Linked DNA regions of Homo sapiens: region 1 is linked to region 2. The links are contacts of gene promoters, found by promoter capture Hi-C in blood cells and fetal thymus (Javierre and others, 2016). All regions are on one chromosome and are shown on one strand. The core of a region is centred on a gene start or on the middle of the fragment in contact, and the rest is flanking DNA. Distances in the headings are between cores, read along the strand shown. Region 1 has its middle 13 kb from the start of MUC5B. Region 2 holds the start of KRTAP5-2 (keratin associated protein 5-2).

Evidence for each region. The method cuts DNA at HindIII sites, captures the fragments that hold promoters and counts their contacts. A CHiCAGO score of 5 or more calls a contact.
Region 1: a contact is called between a fragment that was not itself captured here and the fragment with the promoter of KRTAP5-2 in region 2, in 2 of 17 cell types (naive B cells and total B cells). The highest score is 6.7, in naive B cells.

What each region holds. Positions count from the first base shown.
Region 1 is chr11:1,206,898-1,213,234 of GRCh38, reverse strand. No RefSeq gene overlaps it. Among named protein-coding and RNA genes, the nearest start is that of MUC5B, 13 kb to the left of the region's middle. The HindIII fragment of the contact is 4,451 bases long and covers 1,467-5,917 here.
Region 2 is chr11:1,592,897-1,599,550 of GRCh38, reverse strand. It overlaps KRTAP5-2 (keratin associated protein 5-2), which reads left to right and starts at 1,257. Exons shown (of 1, transcript NM_001004325.2): 1 at 1,257-2,374. The coding sequence starts at 1,301. The coding sequence ends at 1,834. It overlaps KRTAP5-AS1 (KRTAP5-1/KRTAP5-2 antisense RNA 1), which reads right to left. Exons shown (of 2, transcript NR_021489.2): 2 at 367-2,303. RefSeq lists enhancers at 1,481-2,054, 2,629-3,202. The HindIII fragment of the contact is 10,330 bases long and covers 315-6,654 here.

The DNA of each region.
Region 1 (6,337 bases), core at 2,443-4,942, 390 kb after region 2:
AAGTGTGGTACTGAAGTCTTCAGCTATTGTTATAGAACTATTTATTTCTCCCTTCATTCTGACAATGTTTGCTTCATATACCTGGAGGCTCTGTTGTTTGGTTCATATATATTTATAGTTGTTATATCTTCTTGTTGAATTGACTTTTTTTTTTTTTTGAGACAGAGTCTCACTCTGTTGCCCAGGCTGGAGTGCAGTGGCATAATCTTGGTTCACTACAATCTCTGCCTCCCACGTTTACGCCATTCTCCTGCCTCAGCCTCCCAAGTAGCTGGGACTACAGGCACCCACCACCATGCCCGGCTAATTTTTTGTATTTTTAGTAGAGATGGGGTTTCACCATGTTAGCCAGGATGGTCTCAATCTCCTGACCTCATGATCCGCCTGCCTTGGCCTCCCAAAGTGCTGGAATTACAGGCGTGAGCCACCATGCCCAGCCAATCATGGTTTTTTAAAAATTGATTTTAACCAGTCTCTGCATTTTAAATGGAGAGTCTAAGTCTATTTGCATTTAAAGTAATTACTAATAAGGATGTACTTACCACTGCCATTTTACTATTTTTTTGTATGTCTTCTAATTTTTTGTTCCTCATTGTCTCCATCACTGCCTTCTTTTGTCTTCAGTTGATTTTTTGAAGTGACAAATTTTTATTCCCTTCTCATTTCTTTTTGTGTATATTCTATAGCATTTTCTTTGTGGTTACCCTCGGGATGACATATAACATCCTAAAGTTATAACAGTCTAGTTTGAATTGATACCAACATAACTTTAATTGCACACAAAACCCTCCTTCTACACAGCTCCACCCCCTCCCTTTATTTCATTGATGTCACAAATTACATCTTTATACCTTGTGTATTCAATAACATAGATTTATAGTTATTTTTATGCATTTGCCTTTTATATCCTGTAGAAAAGAAGAAGTGGATTAAAATCAAATTTACAGTAATACTGGATTTTTATATTTGGCCATGTATGTAGTTTCAGTGAAGATCTATTTCTTTTTACAGCTTTGAGTTACTGTCTAGTGTCCTTTTATTTCAGCCTGAAGGACTTTGTGTAGCATTTCTTGCAGGGCTTGGCTAGTGGCAACAAATCCCTTACCTTTTGTTTATCTGGTAATGTCCTAATTTCACCCTAAGTTTTGAAGGACAGTTTTGCCAGATATAGAATTCTTGGTTGACAGTGTTGTTGTTTTTTAATTTCAGCACTTTAAATGTTATCATCCACTACCTTGCTGGCCTTTAAGGTTTCTGATGGTAAATATGCTGCCAATCTTACTGAAGATCCCTTAAATACGACAAGTCACGTCTCTTCTTGCTTTTGAGATTCTTTCTTTGCTTTTATCCTTCAACTGTTTGATTATAATGTGTCTCAGTGTGGATCTCTTTGAGTTTATCCTACTTGGAGTTTCTTGAACTCCCTGGATTTGTAGATTCATGTTTTTCATCAATTTTAGAAAGCTTTTGGCCATTTTTGTTCCTTTGAATTTTTTTGAGTTTCTTTGAATAATTTCTCCCTTTCTCTCCTCCTGTAAGACCCACTTGGTGGTCAACAAGCACCTCAGATTCTATTCACTTTTCTTCAATCTTTTTTTCTTTCTGCTCCTCAGACTTGATCATTTCAATTGCCTTGTCTTCAAGTTTGGCTGAGCCTTTCTTATAACTGCTCAAATATGCTGTTGAACCCCTCTAGTGATTTTTTTTCATTTCAGTTATTATAATTTCCAAGTACAGAATATCTGTTTGGTTCTTTTTAAAAAGATTTCTGTCTCTTTGTGGGTATTCTCATTTTGTACGTGCATTGTCTTACTGACCTCCTTTGGTTCTTTGTCCGTCTTTTGCTTTAGTTCTTTGAGCAACTTAAGACAGTTGCTTTAAAATCACTGGCTAGTAAGACTGATGTCTGAATTTACTCAGGGATAACTTCTCCCAGTTTATTTTGTTCCTCTGGATGGGCTATATTGTTTCTTTGTAAGTCTTGTGATTTTTTTGTTGAAAATTGGGGATTTAACTATTATAATGTGGTAACTCTGGAAATCAGATTTCCCCCTTTTTCTAGTGTTGGCTGGGTTTTTCTCTTCTTTTTTATTATTGAAGGCTACAGTGATCCATTCGAGATGTTTTTAAGTGAACTTTGCAAAGGCTGTTTCTTGGTGTGTTTTTTTTTTCTTGACAGAGTCTTGTTCTGTTGCCCAGGCTGGAGTGCAATGGCACGCTCACTGCAACCTCTGCCTCCTGGGTTCAAGCAATTCTCCTGCCTCAGCCTTCCAAGTATCTGGGATTACAGGCACCCACCACTACACCTGACTAATTTTTTGTATTTTTAGTAGAGACTGGTTTTGCTATATTGGTCAGGCTGGTCTTGAGCTCCTGACCTCAGGTGATCTGCCCTCCTCGGCATCCCACAGTGCTGGGACTACAGGCGTGAGCCACCACACCTGGCTGCCAAAGACTATTTCTTGTCATGTGTGATCATGAAGTCTGTGTTCCTTTAGCTCATGTTCAACTGATGTTTTGACAGAGATTTCCTTGAATGCCGGGAGCTCTCCCAGTTTTTAGAGAGAAAGACTAAGAAAAGTGGGAGGAATTAGACTCATTAATGGATATTGACACTAGTTAACACACAGCAGCTAGGGAGGAATAGAATAATTATGTGGTCCTGAAGCACCTCCCACAAGAGACTCCTTAGCTCCAGGGGAGGAGATGGCAACTTTCTGCTGAGACCAACTTGGTCGGGGAGATCCTAACCCAGTGGCACTAGAGGAATTAAAGACACACACAGAAATATAGAGATGTGGAGTGGGAAATCAGGGGTCTCACAGCCTCCAGAGCTGAGAGCCTCGAACACAGATTTACCCACGTATGTATTAACAGCAAGCCAGTGATAAGCATTGTTTCTATAGATTATAGATTAACTAAAAGTATTCCTTATGGGAAATGAAAGGATGGGCTGAAATAAAGCGATGGGTTTGGCTAGTTATCTGCAGCAGGAGCATGTCCTTAAGGCTCAGATCACTCATGCTATTGTTTGTGGCTTAGGAACGCCTTTAAGCGGTTTTCCACCCTGGGTGGGCCAGGTGTTCCTTGCCCTCATTCCAGTAAACCCACAACCTTCAGCGTAGGCGTCATGGCCATCATGAACATGTCACAGTGCTGCAGAGATTTTGTTTATGGCCAGTTTTGGGGCCAGTTTATGGGCAGATTTTGGGGGGCCTGTTCCCAACAACTTTCCAGTGGAGAAAACCGGCAGACACCCCTGAACCAAGTGATGAAGGCTGGCGTCCCAGTGCTGGGTCCAATCGACATCACATCCTCTGGAGACACGCACAGCTTCCCCGTGGTGACCCTGCCAGGGTACAGCCCAGCTGGAGCACAAGCAAACCTCAGACAGACTTAGGGGTGCCACGCAACATAACCAGCCTACTCTCCTCAAAAGACCACGGTCAAGAAACAGAAAAGCTGAGGACAGATTCCAGATACAAGGAGACTGAAGAGCTGGCAGTGGTGGGACAGGTGGTCCTACGCCAAACCCTGGGGTGGGAAAGATGAAAGCTGTGATGGACGCGGGCAGGACAGCAGAGGGGTCTGCCTCTGGGCTGTGATGTCACGTCACCGACCCGTCTGGGTGTGACCCCTGCTGTTTCTAGGCGACACGTCTGCGTATATAAGGGTGAAGGGACATGCTTCTCAAACACCAGAGGTTCAGAAAAATATGTAGCTACAGACAGCAAATAGCACAAGTCCCTGGAACAAAACACAAGCCCCAGAGCCTGAGGAAGGGCATGGAGGAGGTCTCTGTTCCACTCATTCAACTTACCTGCAAGTTCAGAACCACAGCGAAGGAGGACTTTCCCCAGAGGCATGATGCCACCAGAATGCATCCCCTGCAGTAGCCCAGTGGGGCCTGGATGCAGGGGTGCAGTAGTGAAGGGGGACAAAAGGGAAAAGGGAGAAGTGGAGGGGACACGTGTGGAAGGAGGAGGAGGGGGACATGGCAGAGACAGCCTGAGCAGGCAACAGGGATGCAAGGGGCTGGCGTGCCATGGCCAGGTGCTGAGGCCGGTGTCGGGGCTGTCCTGGCCCTGGCACCGTGGATGCTTAGTGGCTCCCCAGCCCTGAGAGTCTCCTGGGGAAGCAGCACCCCCATGCAGGGCCAGAGTCTTGGGGTGCCTCACAGTGGCGGGCAGGCATGACCTCAGTGTGGCGGGCAGGCGTGACCTCAGTGTGGCGGGCAGACGTGACCTCAGTGTGGCGGGCAGGCGTGACCTCAGTGTGGCGGGCAGGCGTGACCTCAGTGTGGCGGGCAGGTGAGGATGCGGGCAGAGTGTGGACAGAGGACAAGGCCGAGGCAGGCCCCTTGGCCGCATTTGCTCAGGATTAAGACAACTCGAGTCAGAGCAAACAGGAGTGGGGCGCACGTTGTCCAGTTCCCTGCCAAGTGTCAGCGGCAAACAGGCCCTCCCTTCCCTCCAGGAACCCCGATGTTGACTTAGCGCCTGCGAGGCTGGCAGAGGGGCCAACGTGGCCCCGTGTGGCTGAGGCCACCTTCCCCAGTGGCCCGGTGCTGGGTTAGGCACCTGATACCAAGGCCAGCACCCACACCCAAGCCCTACAGGCTCCTGCTACCGCCGGCTCCTGCCCCACCTGGCCCCAGGGCCCCTGCAAGAACTGGGAAAGGGAGATCCAGGCCCAGCCCAAGGGACCCACCACAGTCCTGACTCCCGCGCCGTGATGGGGCAGGCCGAGCAGCAGAGGGGCAGCCCACTTGCAGGGCCCGACCCTCACGGGACACAGGCCCAGGCGTGATCCCCGCCCCTTTCACCTTTGGGCCCGGCCGCCCTGTCTGTGCACTCAGCCTCACCAGGGCCCTGCCTGCCCCACATCTGGGATGAGGCTGACGTTCTGAAAGCCTGTGTGGTCTGAGCAGATGGCGGCGAATGCGCCCACACCCCTGTGGGGTACAGAGTCAGAGCTGCTCCAAGGGCAGTGGTGAGTGAACTCTGAACTCTGACCTACGACCCCATTCAGAGGTCACGGTGGTCAGAACAGCTCAAGGGGCACAATGAGGACTTGTTTGTAGGGAAAAGGTTGGCGACCAGACCAAGGCCTCACGCCCAGTTCTACCCAGCCGCGGGGACATGAGGGGCAGCCTCGCCCATGGCCGGCCTGAGGCTTTGGCAGAGTTTGGTCGAGAGCTGCTGCCAGGCCCCTTTCTCAGAACTTAAGGTCACTCAGCACCGACCCTTTATCGCCCAGGAGGATGGTGGGACTGGCCTGGGGTCAGCAGGGGCCCTGCCCTGGCGTTGCTGAGCCTCTGGACGGACGGGCTTCTGCCCAGCTGAGCAGCCCCACGCTCTGCTTCCAGGGAAGGGGAGCAAAGCCCCAGGGCCAGCTCTTAGCAGGGCTGAAGAGGCATTTCCAAGCCTCTGTGTATCCACGTCCGTCTGCCTGCATGTTCGCCCGGGGCCTTGCAGCTCTGTCCATGCAGCACACACGTAGGCAAACAGGAGCCACCGCCCACGATTCTCCAGAGGCAGAGTCTGCAAACCAGCTCGGCCGGCGCTGCTGTGGAGACCCAAGTGAGGGGGGGACGTGGCCCCGGGGACAGCTGAGACGCCCCGGGAGAGGAGGCTGGTCTCAGTGGAGCTACCGGTGGCTTCCTGAGCTGCGCACAGGCGCACGGGTCCACGGCAGGTGGGGTCGGGTGCCGGGAGCAAGGCCATAGTGCCTCTTGGCTCTGGGGACCTAAGGCACATCCTACCACCAGGGTGTGGCCTGGTGACCTCCCTGCCCCCAGGGGCTTCTTCCTGAACCCTGTGAGCTGGAGCCAGCCTGCCAGGGCCCCTCCCAGCAGGACGTGGATTCTCAGTTTTCACTAAATTCTGAACCATCCTTTCGTGGGAGGGTAGAAGCTTGAGAGCCATCGGCCGGGGACATCAGCTTGGGGGCCCTTCCCTGGCACCCTCCTGCCAGCCCCCGCCCAGGCATCTGAGGCCTCCAGGGTGGGTGCTGGGCGAGGCAGCCTGAGCCCCCGGGGCCTGCAGGGGTGGTGCATCAGGGCTGATCTCCCTCTGGGTGGGACAGTCAGAGGAGCAGCCCCCCAACCCTGCCCGGGTGGGAATGAGCCTCTGGCTCAGCCCAGCCAGAGAGGAGCAGTGGGACGCTGGCCTGGGATGGGTCTGGATGGTTTGGGGTTCAGGACCTCTGCCTCTGGTTTGGTAAGCACCGCTCTCAGGGCCCCTGCAGGGTCTGGGACTAGGGTGGCACGTGGTGGGTCGTGAGCAGGGCGAGCTCCCGGAGGTGACAGAGCTGCCTCCACCATTGACAGGGGCCC
Region 2 (6,654 bases), core at 8-2,507:
TTTTTTGCAGCTGTGTAGTATTCCATGGTGTATATGTACCACATTTTCTTTATCCAATCCACCATTGATGGGCACCTGGGTTGATTCCACATCTTTGCTTTTGTGAATAGCACTGCAATTAACATATGGATGCATGTGTCTTTTTGGTAGATTGATTTATTTTCCTTTGGGTATATACCCAATCATGAGATTGCTGGGTCAAATAGTAGTTCAATTCTTAGCTCTTTGAGAAATCTCCAAACTGCTCTCCGTGGTGGCTGAATTCATTTACATTCCCACCGACAGTGTACAAGTGTTCCCTTCTCTCTCAAGCTTTGCCAGCATCTGATTTTAGGTTTTTTTGTTTTGTTTTGTTTTTTACTTTTTATCAAAAGCCATTCTGACTGATATGAGATGGTATCTCGTGGTGGTTTCGATTTACATTCCCCGAATAGTTAGTGATGTGGAGCATTTTTTCATATAGTTGTTGGCCAGTGTTGAAGGAGGGGCCTGCAGGGAGGTGTCTGGGTCATGGGGGTGGATCCCTCATGAGTGACTTAGTGCCACCCCCTTGGCGATGAGTGTGTTCACTCAGATCTGGTTGTTCACAAGTGTGTGGCTCCTCCTCACCCCTTGCTCCCACTCTCACCATGTGGTGTGCCTGTTCCTGCTTCGCCTTCCACCGTGAGGAAAACTCCCTGAGGGCCTCCCCAGAAGCTGAGCAGAGGTGGGTGCCATGCTTGTGCAGCCTGCAGAACCATGAGCCATTCTAACCTCTTTCCTTTATAAATTACCCAGCCTCAAGTATTTCTTTAGAGCAATGCAAAGAATGGTCTAACACACCCGGAAAGCTGAGACTGGCATGAGTATAAAGATCGTGGATAATTTTGAAATCTAAAAATGTAAAATTAATATTATTGAGGGAGTCAACACAGGAAAGATGAGAGCACGTGGGCAGAGGCTGTTGCCCATTGGTCACATGTGGTCAGCAGAGAGCAGGTGACCAGCACCCTGGAGCTTTGCAGGAAGAACCAGACAGCCTGGAGCTGAGGTTTTAATTGTAGGGGCCAAAACAAATGGGGAAAAAGACAAATTTAGAAAACAAAGAAAGTAGATGCTCAACTGAGCCAGAAGGAAGTCACTAGCAAAGAGGAAAAAAATAGAGCTCTGGAAAAATAGTGTAAACAGTCACAAGAAAGGGACCCTGTGTCATGCCTGACATCTGGACAGGTATATAAAGAGCCCAGGCTCAGGGAGCTCCACACCTGCACCTCCCTCTCACCTGCTCCTCTACCTGCTCCACCCTCAATCCACCAGAACCATGGGCTGCTGTGGCTGCTCCAGAGGCTGTGGCTCCGGCTGTGGGGGCTGTGGCTCCAGCTGTGGGGGTTGTGGCTCTGGCTGTGGGGGCTGTGGCTCCGGCCGTGGGGGCTGTGGCTCTGGCTGTGGGGGCTGCAGCTCCAGCTGTGGGGGATGTGGCTCCAGATGTTATGTGCCTGTCTGCTGCTGCAAGCCCGTGTGCTCCTGGGTGCCAGCCTGTTCCTGCACCAGCTGTGGCTCCTGTGGGGGCTCCAAGGGGGGCTGTGGCTCCTGTGGGGGCTCCAAGGGGGGCTGTGGCTCCTGTGGGGGTTCCAAGGGGGGCTGTGGTTCTTGTGGCTGCTCCCAGTCCAGCTGTTGTAAGCCCTGTTGCTGCTCCTCAGGCTGTGGATCATCCTGCTGCCAGTCCAGCTGCTGCAAGCCCTGCTGCTGCCAGTCCAGCTGCTGTGTCCCCGTGTGCTGCCAGTCCAGCTGCTGCAAGCCCTGTTGCTGCCAGTCCAACTGTTGTGTCCCTGTGTGCTGCCAGTGTAAGATCTGAGGCTCTGGACCCAGACCTTCAGGTTTCTCCTGTTTGGTGAAAGCATTTCTTATGGTTCCCTGAGTCAGTTCGTCCCACACATCCTCCCTGAGGCACCTGCACCTGCTCTAGCTCACCATCCATGCACACACCTCCTTCCATGGCTCAGCTCTCCTCTGGGCCCTGCCTTCAGCCTCCTCACTCCAGAAACGTGTGTTTCCCTGATGCGGGAGGTGTCCTCGCCTGGACGCAGGCACCCAGCCGACTGCCACGATGTTCCCTGCACTTGGGTGTGGACCATCTTCTTCTTCTCCCTGGGCTGACTGAGATGCAAGGTCTGACCCCACAAGGCCAGGCCGACGTTTCTGAGTGATCACTAAGAACCAGCTTCTCAACCACCATCAGGACCCTGGATCCTCCTGGGCCGCTGCCTGTTCTCCTGTGGCCCAAGTGTGACCAGGAAGGTCTCTTTCCTTCCTGTTGTCTCCATCTGTTTAAAAAAAAATAACAAAATAATGAATGAATTTCCTTGCAATAAAGCCTCTCATGTCTGTAAATCAACTGTATACTTGGTGCAATTCTGTCCAACCCCTTTCCTGTGCGGTGACCGATTCTGTGTTCTGATCTGTCAGCTAAGCTGGGAAACGCCTGCCAGCAGGCCTGGTACATTCACAAAAAAGCCTGCCATTCCCTTCTGTCCTCCTCTCGGCCTCAAATATCTTCACAGTCTCTGCTTGCAGGAGAAGAGGGCTCAGCCCGGGGAGGATTCGGCATTCAATGCCCGCCCTAGAGGCGCAGAGGGGCAGGCGGGCCCTGAGTCCTGACGACCAGCCAAGCAGGGCCTTGCACAAGACCCATGGCTTCCAGCTTCCCGCTCTCCTCTGGGGCCTCGGAAGGACCCCAGGCAGGGCAAGGTCGGAGGAGGGAGGAGTGAAGCACCGCTGAGCTCCAGCGCGGTCTGATTCAAACACTCAATTAGCCTTTTACAATCATGAGGTCAACGGCTTTCCATAACTAAAGGTAACCAGGAAGTTACAGAATGGCCCAAGGTGTCCTCGGAGCTCAGTCTCCCGGCAGGAAAGGGGAGTTCCTGGGAAATGACACATTTGGGGACCCTGAGCCAAGTCCATCTGTTTCATGGTGACGTGCCACCACGCTGAGCCTGTTCTCTGACCAGTGTCACAGGCAAGGCTTTAGAAATCACGCACTGGGGAGGAGGGGACGAGAGTGATCTGAGGATGATCTCCAGACAAGCGAACCTGGAGGGAAAAGGTGGAGGGAAGAGAGCACACAGGGAGCGCTGGTGAGAAATGAGCTCCCACAGAACACCCACAGATCTAAGCGACTGCTGATAATGCCAGGGAAGAGCAGAGTGGGAATTTCCAGGACAAATTTCTGAGAGAAAAGAGATGCAATGTAAGGAAAAATGAAATAATCTAGAAATAAAGGCTTAGATTAATTCAGCCACTTTTAGGAGAGGGAATAAAAGTGTGTCAAAGGTGCATCTTGCTAGGGGACATGGCTATCGTTAGTTTCACGACGTTAAAAGGAAATGCTGCTTAAGACAGTTTACTCAAAAATCCAAACTGGGAAACTCCAGAAGGTGGCAGCAGACATGAACGCAGAGTTCATTACATTTGGGCCCTGTACATTCCCACAGCCCACAGGACACCGAGCAACTCGGTAACAAAACCAAAAATGCATGCTGGAGACTTATAACAAAACCAGGTAAGCCAGGCATGGTAGCGCAAACCTGCAGCCCCAGCTACTTGGGAGACTGAGGCAGGAGGATGGCTTGAGCCTAGGAGTCTGAGGCTGCAGTGAGCTGTGATCGCACCACTGAACTCCAGCCTGGGCAATATAAAGTGAGATGGTGTCTTAAGAAAAAGCAGGTGAACCTAAAAGTACAAGAAGGTGGGGATAAATTTCCAAGAGCCACAGTCCCCCAGGGTTTCAGTGTCTGTGCAGGAGAAAGCGAAGAAACATCTAACAGAGACGAAAACAGGGGAACCTCAAAAGAGCCAACAGGTGTGTGCTGGAAAAGCGCAGCATGAATTTTGGATTTGGCTCCTGAAATGGGGAAGGTTTTCCTCCCTCTAGTGGTGAGTGGGTGCAAGGGCCCTCGGTAAGTCCCTAGAGGCAATGGAAGAAAGCTAGGAAGCCTGCCGTGAAACAGATCACAGTGGTAGCCTACTGTTTCCAAAGGAGCTAATGAACAATGAAAGGAAATGATACCAGACATAAATAAGGCCGGGCGCGGTGGCTCACACCTGTAATCCCAGCACTTTGGGAGGTGAGGCAGGAGGATCACTTGAGGCCAGGAGTTCAAAACCAGCCTGGGCAACATAGTGAGACCCCCACCTCTACAAAACATTTTAAAAACTAAGTGGGTATGGTGGTGTGTGTCTTTAATCCCAGCTGCTAGGGAAGTTGAGGCGGGAGGATTGCTTGAGCCTAGGAGGTTGAGGCTGCAGTGAGCTATGATCCTGCCACTGCACTCCAGCCTGGGCAACAGAGTGAAACCCCATCTCAAAAAAAGAGACATAAATGAACAACAAAAGTCATAAATAGAAGAATTGCTAAATGAGGGGACATCACTTAAGAGAAAATTAGAGTTAAAAGAAATCACTCTAGAAATAAAGTCTAAAGTGGGACAAACGTATGAGTAAAAAAGTACAATAAATTTTAAAAACCAAAAAGAAATGAAGAACTAAAAAGGATTCAAGAGACAATGACAAAAATTGAAAAGAAGCAAAGAAGATCCAAGACTCCTAACCAAAGTCATGTATGACAGTCAAACAATTACATAAAAAACTAGAATAAAAAAGCACTAATCAAAAAGAACAGAAGAGAAAAAGAAATATAGATCAGGTGATGCAATAGAAAATTCAGACTAAGAACATAGGTTTTAAACCCAAATATTTCAGTAATTATTTCACAAGTAAATGGACAAAATGCTCTAGTTTACATATAAAGATTGCTAGACAAGTTTTCTTAAAAAATGTATAACTAGATGTAAAGTCAAAAGTTGCATCTAAAACATAAGGATTCAAAAATGTAAAAAAAAAAAAAGAAGGGGGGGTAGAAAAAGACATAACATGCAAAGCAAGCTATACTAATAGTAGGCAAAATAAAAACAAAGGCCTGGCTGGGTGCAGTGGCTCACACCTGTAATCCCAGCACTTTGGGAGTCTGAGGCGCACAGATCACCTGAGGTCGGAAGTTTGAGACCAGCCTGACCAACGTGGTGAAACCCAATCTCTACTAAAACTAACAAAAAAAATAGCTGGGCATGGTGGGGCACGCCTGTAATCCCAGCTACTCAGGAGGCTGAGGGAGAAGAATCGCTTGAACCCAGGAGGCAGAGGTTGCAGTGAGCCAAGATCACGCCACTGCACTCCAGCCTGGGCAACCAGAGTGAGACTCCATCTCAAAAAATATATATATACATATATATATATATGCATGCATCATATATGTGCTGAGAATTTTATAGATCACAATCCTCAGCTAATGAATCCTATATAGACATTGTTTTTATTTAACTTTTTTCTCCTTCATTATCCCAAGTCCCATCATCCTCTCCACCCATAGGCATCCATCCTTGCAGGTATCTTTCCAATTCATCTTCCATAAGTTATTTACAAACATTTGCATATAATCATGACAAATATGTAGCATTTTTCAATGTGTATGTATTTGGTTTTGGTTTTGTTTTTGAGACAGGTCTTGCTCTGTCACCCAAGCTGGAGATAGAGTGCAACGGTGCAATCTCAGCTCACTGCAACCTCCACATCCCGGGCTCAAACGATCCTCCTGCCTCAGCCTCCCAAGTAGCTGGGACTACAGTCGCACCTCCACACCTGGCTAATTTTTGTATTTTTTGTAGAGATAGGGTTTCACCACGTTGCCCAGGCTGGTCTCGAACTCCTGGACTCAAGTAATCCACCTGCCTGGCCCTCCCAAAGTGCTGGGATTACAGACGTGAGCCACTGTGTCCAGCCTTGTGTATGTTATTTAAATTCATGATGGTTATAAATTCTGTTCTGTTTCTTGCGTTTTAAGCAAATCTGGTGCTTTTGGCATGTATTGCTACATGAAAATACAATGCATTATTTCTGGCCACTGAAGTGTGTTCCACTAGATTCCTGCCCCCCATTTCCCACATCCATCACCCTTTTTTGAGCTCTTTGCTGCCATATAATCCACCATGATGAATATCCTCATTGCTCAGCATAACACCCAGGAGTGGTGAACCTAGTGAATGAGTTTTCAATGATCAATGAGTGGGATGCTGAAATGGGGAGCCTGGGAGAACAGATTTCTTTTCCTTTTTTTTTTGAGATACAGTCTCATTCTGTCGCCCAGGTTGGAGTGCAGTGGCACGATCTCAGCTCACTGCAAGCTCTGCCTCCTGAGTTCACGCCATTCTCCTGCCTCAGCCTCCTGAGTAGCTGGGACTACAGGCACCCGCCACCACGCCCGGATAATTTTTTGTATTTTTAGTAGAGATGGGTTTTCACTGTGTTAACCAGGATGGTCTCCATCTCCTGACCTTGTGATCTGCCCACCTTGGCCTCCCAAAGTGCTGGAATTACAGGCGTGAGCCACTACACCCGGCCCCAGATTTCTTGAGAAGTATCTGTTTTGGAAGGAAGGCGACTGAGGTGTTGATCAGTGCCATATCTACATCTTCTTCATCAATATGGAATGATGCTTTCATGATCTAAAAAGGCAATAGCCATAGAATGAATGTGCTTCCCAGAATCAAAAGGCCATACCAAAAAAAAAAAATGCAGTTTATAACAACCAAAAATATTGCTCCTCCTCAAGGCTGTGTA